2 separate regions of the Homo sapiens genome follow, and region 1 is linked to region 2. The links are contacts of gene promoters, found by promoter capture Hi-C in blood cells and fetal thymus (Javierre and others, 2016). All regions are on one chromosome and are shown on one strand. Each heading gives the region's core, a stretch centred on a gene start or on the middle of the fragment in contact. The rest is flanking DNA. Distances are from core to core; before and after follow the strand shown. Region 1 overlaps PTPRF (protein tyrosine phosphatase receptor type F). Region 2 holds the start of ARTN (artemin).

The links. Contacts are between HindIII fragments. The CHiCAGO score rates a contact against its expected background, and 5 or more counts as called.
Region 1: a contact is called between a fragment that was not itself captured here and the fragment with the promoter of ARTN in region 2, in 9 of 17 cell types (megakaryocytes, fetal thymus, naive CD8 T cells and 6 more). The highest score is 8.7, in megakaryocytes.

What each region holds. Positions count from the first base shown.
Region 1 is chr1:43,540,439-43,544,463 of GRCh38, forward strand. All of the region lies in intron 2 of PTPRF (protein tyrosine phosphatase receptor type F), which reads left to right. Among named protein-coding and RNA genes, the nearest start is that of PTPRF, 12 kb to the left of the region's middle. The HindIII fragment of the contact is 9,596 bases long and covers 1-4,025 here.
Region 2 is chr1:43,931,437-43,935,170 of GRCh38, forward strand. ARTN (artemin) reads left to right here and starts at 2,365. Exons shown (of 5, transcript NM_057091.3): 1 at 2,365-2,449; 2 at 2,676-2,824. RefSeq lists enhancers at 627-1,127, 1,757-1,806 and silencers at 2,317-2,406, 2,957-3,006. The HindIII fragment of the contact is 8,131 bases long and covers 1-3,734 here.

The sequences.
Region 1 (4,025 bases), core at 661-3,160, 390 kb before region 2:
AGGTACAGAGGCTTGGAGGCACAAAGTTGGGAAACAGTAATCCAAGGGGGACCCCAGCCCCAGAGGAAGGGGCCTGGAGGCTTAGGGGTTACAGCCGCAGGAAGATACCTCTGCTGGTCCCCTTTGGTCATTTGCCTCCAGAGTTAGTCTCCTGCTGACCCTTTGCCGCCTCCAAGTCTCTGCGACACTCCTCCTAATCTCCCCCTCCACTCCTCAGTGAGATGGAGAAACTGAGAGCTGCAACAGGGTGGGACTCAGTCCAGCTGGTGGGAGCCCCGATACCAGCCGTGGGAGGGAGGGCTGTTCCTGGCTCTGCTCACGGATTCTGGCCAACTGGCTGGAGGAGGGAAGGCGGCCTCACCCTCTTCCCCACAGGCCCCTCCTTCCCTGGGTCAGGGGTCCTGGCTGAGACTATAATTTATTCCCGTCATAATCCAGTGGTTGGTTTGGTGAGAGCTGGAAACATGTTGGTTTTCCCTTCCCAAGTATAACAAGGCCTGTTTCCGCCTCCGCGGCCGCTGCTGCAGTGCCACGCGGTGAACTGTCCAGGACATGACAAAAGGGCTCGGTTAGCTGCCCGCTGGTTAGAAGATGAACGGCTCAGAGCTCTCCCTGCCGACAGGCTCTTCCCTTCCTGTTGCCCAAGTGCTGGCCTTTCCTCTTGGCCGTCTGCTCTGTAGGGCCCTGGATACCCCTCCTTCTGCTCATGTCCATTTCTGGGCCCCAGGGTCCTGGCCTGGGGAGGTGAGATGGGGGAGGCTACAGAAACAGGTGGTATTTGGAGACTAATTAATATTTGTGAATAATAATGCATGCCCAAGGAAAACAAATCAATCTGTGTTTGCGTATTTATGATGAGGACTCAGGAATGATCCCAGCTGTTCTCCAGCCAGGGAAGCCCCCATCACATGGTCCCTTGGGCCCCCACAGAGGCTGGCAGGGTGGTTAGGGTGGGCTGCATGGAGGTGACATGGCTTCTGTGTTTTGCAACGTGAATCTTCTGTGACGTTCATATGCGAATGCTGTGGCTTGGTCTAGTGCCTGCTTCTTCCTTTTCCCTCAAAGCAGTGATTCCCAGGCTCTTTGGTTTCACGAACCAATACAATTTCCAAAAGTACTCAAGAGCCAGACATGGGGTTGGCAATTTTTTATTTTGCCAAGTAAAGGCATTATAAAAAAACAACTGCTATCTGCTGTCCCCATCATTTCATACAGGAAAGAACATTTTAACACCAAGGACAATATTTGAGAATAAAGGACAGTTCTTCCCAAGAAAGGGCAGTTGGCAGCTTTACACTGACGTAGCAAAGGAAAAGGATATATTAAAACCATTCTGAATGTGGAAAAATTGTGTCCAATTATATTCTATAATATCATACCGTATGTAATTGTGTTCCTGCCCAAGTATGTCAGCTTGGCAGAACGGATGGTCCACAGTGCAATTCAGAGACGAGCTTGAGTGCCCCAGTGCTCCGGCCTTGTTTTTATCTCGGTTGTTGAAAGCCCAGGCTCACCCAGCCATGCTGGTGAAGTGGGTGTTCTGCTGTGAACACCGTTGCATGGATTCACAAGATGCTCAACCTCGCAACCGCAGTCAGGCTAGCAGCAGCCCTGCCCCTTGTTCCTCTCCCACCTTCTCCCCACAGGTGACCCTGGGACCCTGGGACTCTGGGGGCCAAGGTCTACTCTTGAGGCCAGGCCTGGGGATCCAGGGCTGCTCTGCTCTGATGAGGGAGGCCCTGGAGCTGGGAGTGGCCTGAACCGCCTGACACCAGGGCAGGCTCTGTGCCCGGAGTCTCAGGGCGGGAGGCAGCTTGCTCTCGCCAGGAGCTGGTGAGGGAGAGGCCCTGGCTCGTACAGCTGTGTGGCTGCCAGAGTAGTTGCCTGAGAATGTGTTTGTGTGTGTCCCTTGTGTTTCCCCATCTCCCTGGGCATCTGTGTCCTTGTGTCCATCATGGACCACTGGAAGAAGCTCTCTGTTCTACTTTCTGGATCTGAACAAAGTGTCCTGAGCACCCCAACCCAGATACACAGGGGGTTTCTGGAGGCCCCACGTTGGGGGTAGGGTTACCTGAGGCCCAAGTTCTCCAACACCCATGGCCAGACTCTCATCCAGGCTTGTACCACATGGGTGTCTATTCTGGGAGTTTTACCCCCATGATGGCTCTCCTGGGAGCTCTGCCCCCACCATGAAGTCTGTAACAGCACGTTACACCTCTGCTAATGTATGGGGAGTTGCACCCCTGTAATGTCCTTATCAGGCAGCTGCACTCCATGATGTCTGTACCCTCTGTGTCCGCCCACGTGATGTCTAGACCACACCATTACACCTCCATGATGTCTGCACCTGGGCGTTATACTGCTATGATTACTGCACCAAGGCGGCTACAGGGGATTAAGCCTCTGCTCATTGTACTGGGGAGCTATATCCCATGATGACGGTGCTGTGCATTTTATTTTCATAGCAGGGAGATATGCTCATGCTGGGGGCCTATGTCCCTATGAAGCCTGCCTGGCAGGGGTTGCATGCTTGGAATGCTTGTTCCTGGAAGTTAACCTCTGTGACTATTATATTGTTATACCCGATGATGCCGGTACGAGGCCACTGTGCCCTGTCCTTTGGTGCAACACAGCTGTTGAGTTATAAACTCATGTGTCTCATTCAGGGGCTCCAGGATGGTCCATCAGGGGACCATACCCCCATGATGACCTGGCCTGGCATAGGATACCAGATGTGTCCACAGGCCCAGGGAGGAAGAGCCACTCATAGTCCACCACCTGATGGCCGCTGGGAAGGTGCTCCATCGTTGGCTGCATGTGGCACCATAGCGCAAGCTCAGGCAGGGCCTTGGTGATGTGTGACCTCCATCCCACTGTGGCCTTGCAGGCGTCATTGTGGTCTCAGCCACCTCAGCTCTGGGATCGTGGAGCAGATCCATCCCCAGCTTGGTGTAAATGGGGCTGGACACCTATCAACGTTCTTACTTGAAGAACTGGTGTAAATGAAGGCTGGACACCCTTCACCGTTCTTACTTTGTTGTTCAGCTCCTGTCTCAGATTTTTGGTGGGATCCTGGGACAGGGGACAACTCTCACCCCTTTTCCTTTGTGTTTGGCCCCATCCCACTTTGCATTCCCACCTGCTTTGTCCAACACCTTTGCTCAACTGCTGCCTTCTGACCTCATGAACTTTGATTATCTCAGTTGAGACAAGGGTTCAAATTTCAGAAACGACTGGAGCACCTTTGAGCCCTGCCCATTCCTGGTCACCTGCCCTGTCACCTTGCAAATTCTCTTACTATTGTGGGTCAGCGGGGACCTGGGTCTGATCACAACTCCCCTATCAAAGTCCATGCGTATCACTGTGGGGCCCCAAGGCGTGTTCACCGTCATGCACTCTGCTCTGTTGCGTCTTCACAGCATTCATGAGGGATCGACCACGTCTCACCCCTCTGCCCAGAGCATGGTGTGATCAGAGCTTGTGGGCCCTTCCATACATCCCCTGGTGCCCCCCAGGTGAGGGGTATGGGAGAGAGACCCTGGGGAGCTCACCAGTGGGGCCAGGGAGTGATAGCAGCGTATCTCCCATGTATAGTGCGGCCATGCTAGAGGCTTCACCCAGGTGCCTGCAGGCACTTCAGGCCAGGAGCCTTGGAAGTAAAGGCCTAGGGGCATTCAGCCAGTCCCAGACGCTACTCAGTCTTTTTGTGCATAGCTTCCTGTCTCAAACATCAGCCCCTGAGGTTCACACCCCATCATCCCTACACTTGTTTGGCTCCGGGCTTCTGGGGCAAGGGCAGAAGAGATGTGAGGTTTGAATTCTAGGGTCTAACACCCCATTCCTGGCCACTGAGGCCTCCCTGTGGTTTCTCTGTGAAGTAGGAAGGTGCCATGGGAATGGGTAGGACGAGGGTGGCCAGGCAGGGCAGCAGCAGCTTGTCAAGAGCACGTCCTGGTGAGCACTGAGGGGTTGTGGCTTTGGCTGGAAGCCTCTGATACCTGGAGCCTGTCTTCTGCTAACAAGCC
Region 2 (3,734 bases), core at 1,115-3,614:
CCACCTCTGGAAGGACAGATATTCCTGCAAGCACAGGAAAGATATACTGCTGAGCCCCTGCAGCAAGCAGAGGCTCACAGACCTACCCTACTACTGACACTCCCGTCCCTCTGGGAAGGACATGCCCCAGCCCCAATCATTAGCACAGAGGCACACCCTCTCCCTTCAGCCCTGCTCTAGGTATCCTCTGTCATACTTTAGAAAAGATATCACGTCGCCTTCTTAAGAGTCCTAGAGTCTGATCCCTCTCTTCCCCAGCATCCCCAGGCAGGCCTGAGAATGGACAGACCAGACTGTCGCCTGCACTTGAGGCCATGAAGTGAGCTTTCTGTCACACACTGCCACTGTGGCAGGCAGTAAGTGGGGTGGCCGGCTCCTGCTCCTCTCTCCTGCCCACCCCAATCCAAGACTCCAGGCAGCCCTGGGCTGCCCTCCCACTGGTGAGCCCTAAGGCTGGAGTCCCGGCCATCCCAGGGACCAGCAGCCTCCCACATGCTCCTTCCCACTGTGGCCGGCCTTAGGCAGAAGCCTCCTGGGCTAGGGGGGTAAGGGAGGCCCTGACTGAGGGACAGGTCAACCCAGAAACCCCCTCCATTTCTACCGGAAATAAGGCCACTACCATGCACATGTTCCTGCCTGGATGGTGCCCCGTGGAGTTGTACAGGGCATAGGCTGAATGGCCATAAGTGGTGTCCCTGGCTGAAAAAGCCCCAAGGCAGGTGCCCCAACTGAGCAGCCGGTTGTGGGAGGTGACAGAGCAGACTGCTCCCTGCTTGGCCTCCTATCCCAGGGGGCTCCTGGCACGCCTGCAGCAGCCCCACCACCTCCAGCAGCAGTTCTCTGTGGTCTGACTTCTAGTCCTCACCACCGCGGAAAACTACTTTCACACCAGCTATGGTTCTGAGCCCTGGCCATGCACCAGAATCACCTGTGCAATTTGAAAACTGCACATGTCCACCCTGAAAGTCTGATTTGGGTCTGGGTTGAGGCCCGGATGTGGGTAGTTTTTAAAGGTCCCTAGTGGTTCAGAAGCATAGCCAGGGTACAGCTGGTCCACACACATCCCCAGCACTCTCATCCCTGACCACAGCTTCCAATTGCCAGTTGGTTGACAATTCCCAAATTGCCTTTGCCAGCGCAGCTCTCTCTGCTTCCTTCCAGGCTACAAATTCACCGGCTTCCTGAACATTTCCACTTGGATAATCCACAGGCCCTTCCAACTCAACATGTCCAACACCGAACTCATGAGCCCCTGCCTTTCCTCCCAGGAGCCGGGATGTACCCCTCCCCCAGGTCACCCCGCCAAAGGCACACTTTTGCAGGGTCTACCTACCTCCTCACCCTATCCAGTCAGGCACTAATGAATTTTCAAAATTGCGTGTTCCAGATTGGGGCCTGGCAGCCCCACGCTCCCCTCATGCCCTGCATCAGACCTCATCCTCTTTCCACAGCAGCCTCCACCTTTCTCTCCAACCCCATCCTCTTTACTACAGCCAGAGTCATCCACAAAAAATGCCTGTCTGATTACACCATTCTGCTCAAAACCCTCCCATGGTCCCCAGTGTTAGGATCTTTCCATCCATGTTACTCACCCAGCCCTCAACCCACCTGCCAAATTGCCATAATTAGGCATCTGAAATGCTGCCCTCCAGCTACCTACTTCAAGACTCAGCTCAGATGTTCCTCCTCTGTGACCCCTGCCTTCAGCCCTCAGTACCCACTTCTGCCAACACTGCCCCTGCTGTGCCCCAGTGACTCCCGTGTTTGCAAGTGTGTCCGTACTCCAAGCCCTAAGCAGCACAGGAGGTGAGCTGTGGGGAGACTAGAGCAGAGTCAGATCCTGAAAGCTGCGCAGAGGCTAAGCAACCCAACAAGGCAGGTGAACTGGCCGCTGAGAGAAGAATCGGGTGGAGCAGAGAGCAGCTGCTGCAGGGCAGACAGCCGGACCCCCAAATCTGCACGTACCAGCAGTCAGCCGCCCCACGCAGGGACCGGCTTACCCCTCGCTCCCCGCCCTCACTCACTTTCTCCCGCCCTCGGCCCGGCCTCCCAGCTCTCTACTTCGCGAGTCTACAAACTCAACTCCCGGTTTCCGTGCCTCTCCACCGCTCGAGTTCTCTACTCTCCATATCCGAGGGGCCCCTCCCAGCATCTACCCCCCTCCCAACCTCGGGGGACCTAGCCAAGCTAGGGGGGACTGGATCCGACGGGTGGAGCAGCCAGGTGAGCCCCGAAAGGTGGGGCGGGGCAGGGGCGCTCCCAGCCCCACCCCGGGATCTGGTGACGCTGGGGCTGGAATTTGACACCGGACGGCTGCGGCGGCGGGCAGGAGGCTGCTGAGGGATGGAGTTGGGCCCGGCCCCCAGACAAGGCCCGGGGGCTCCGCCAGCAGCAGGTCCCTCGGGCCCCAGCCCTCGCTGCCACCCGGGCCTGGAGCCCCACACCCGAGGTAAGCCAGCCCACTTGCCTGTTTCTGGTCCCAGCCCTGGATGGACGCTCTTGGGCTGGGGGAGAGGACAGGACCACCCCCCTCCTCTCCTTTCTTGCATCCTCCCTCTCTTGGGCCCTCGGCACAGTTCTCCGCCCCTCCCAGCCCCTCAGTCCCTCTTGTCGCTTGTTGGACTGTGCTGGCCTTGCCGGCCCACTGTAATGTGAGGCTCCCGCTGCCGCTACAGGGTGCAGACTGGCTGCCAAGGCCACACTTTTGGCTAAAAGAGGCACTGCCAGGTGTACAGTCCTGGGCATGCGCTGTTTGAGCTTCGGGGGAGAGCCCAGCACTGGTCCCCGGAAAGGTGCCTAGAAGAACAAGGTGCAGGACCCCGTGGTGAGTAGCGGGCTGGTGGATGGGGAGGCAAGGGCCAGAGAACCAAATGGCCCTAGACCACAAGGAGGTAGGAGGCAGGGCCTGAGCTGCCCTCAAGAGACCTGCTCCCGGGCTCCCCCTAGCGCAGAGGGCTCCTAAGGCTGCCCTGCCTGCCTTTCCCTCCATCACGGACAACAGTCACTGGCCTGGCTCGGAGGCCTTGATTCCACTTAGCCAAGAGGCACACACCAGGACCTGGAGGACAACCCCGGGAAGGCCTGGGGGTCTGTTCCACAGGTGTGCAGGCATTCTGTGTGCTAAAGGATGGGGATGAGGGTGGTAGCTGGGACCCAAGAGGAGGCTGGCTAATGAGGACTTACGAAGGCTCTAGGGCCCCAAAAGGGTGTTTGGGAGTGCTAGCAGTGGGAGCTCAGGAAGGCTGGCTGGGATCAGGAACGATGGCTCAAGGGGGAAACTTCTAGGAGCATGACTAGGCTGCCAGATCCATAGGAGGCTGGGAGGGGGACAGACCTAGACCAGCTCCCAGGGTGGCTCAGCTCTCAGAGACCAGGCTGGTATGGAAGCCTAGCTGGCCCTCCTGGGAGTGGCTCAGGCCTGAGTGTAGCTGAGGGGATGGAAAAGCCCACCCTGCTTGGAATCTGCAGGCTTGGCAGACTCTGCCCCCTTGTGGCCACAGGAAGCCATGACCCAGGCCCCATGTTTTCAGAGGGCCCATTAGCTCCCACCATCCCCCGGCTCTGTGGTCATCGAGGGACACCTATAGTCAGAGGAGAGAACTCAGGTGGCTCTGGGTCCAGAACACAGTTCACAGAGGGGCGAGGTGAAGCAGCTCTGGGTGGGCAGCACAGGCTGAGGCTTGGGGCTCACTATCATTAGATAACTCTTAGAGTGACCAGCTAGCACCCTAATT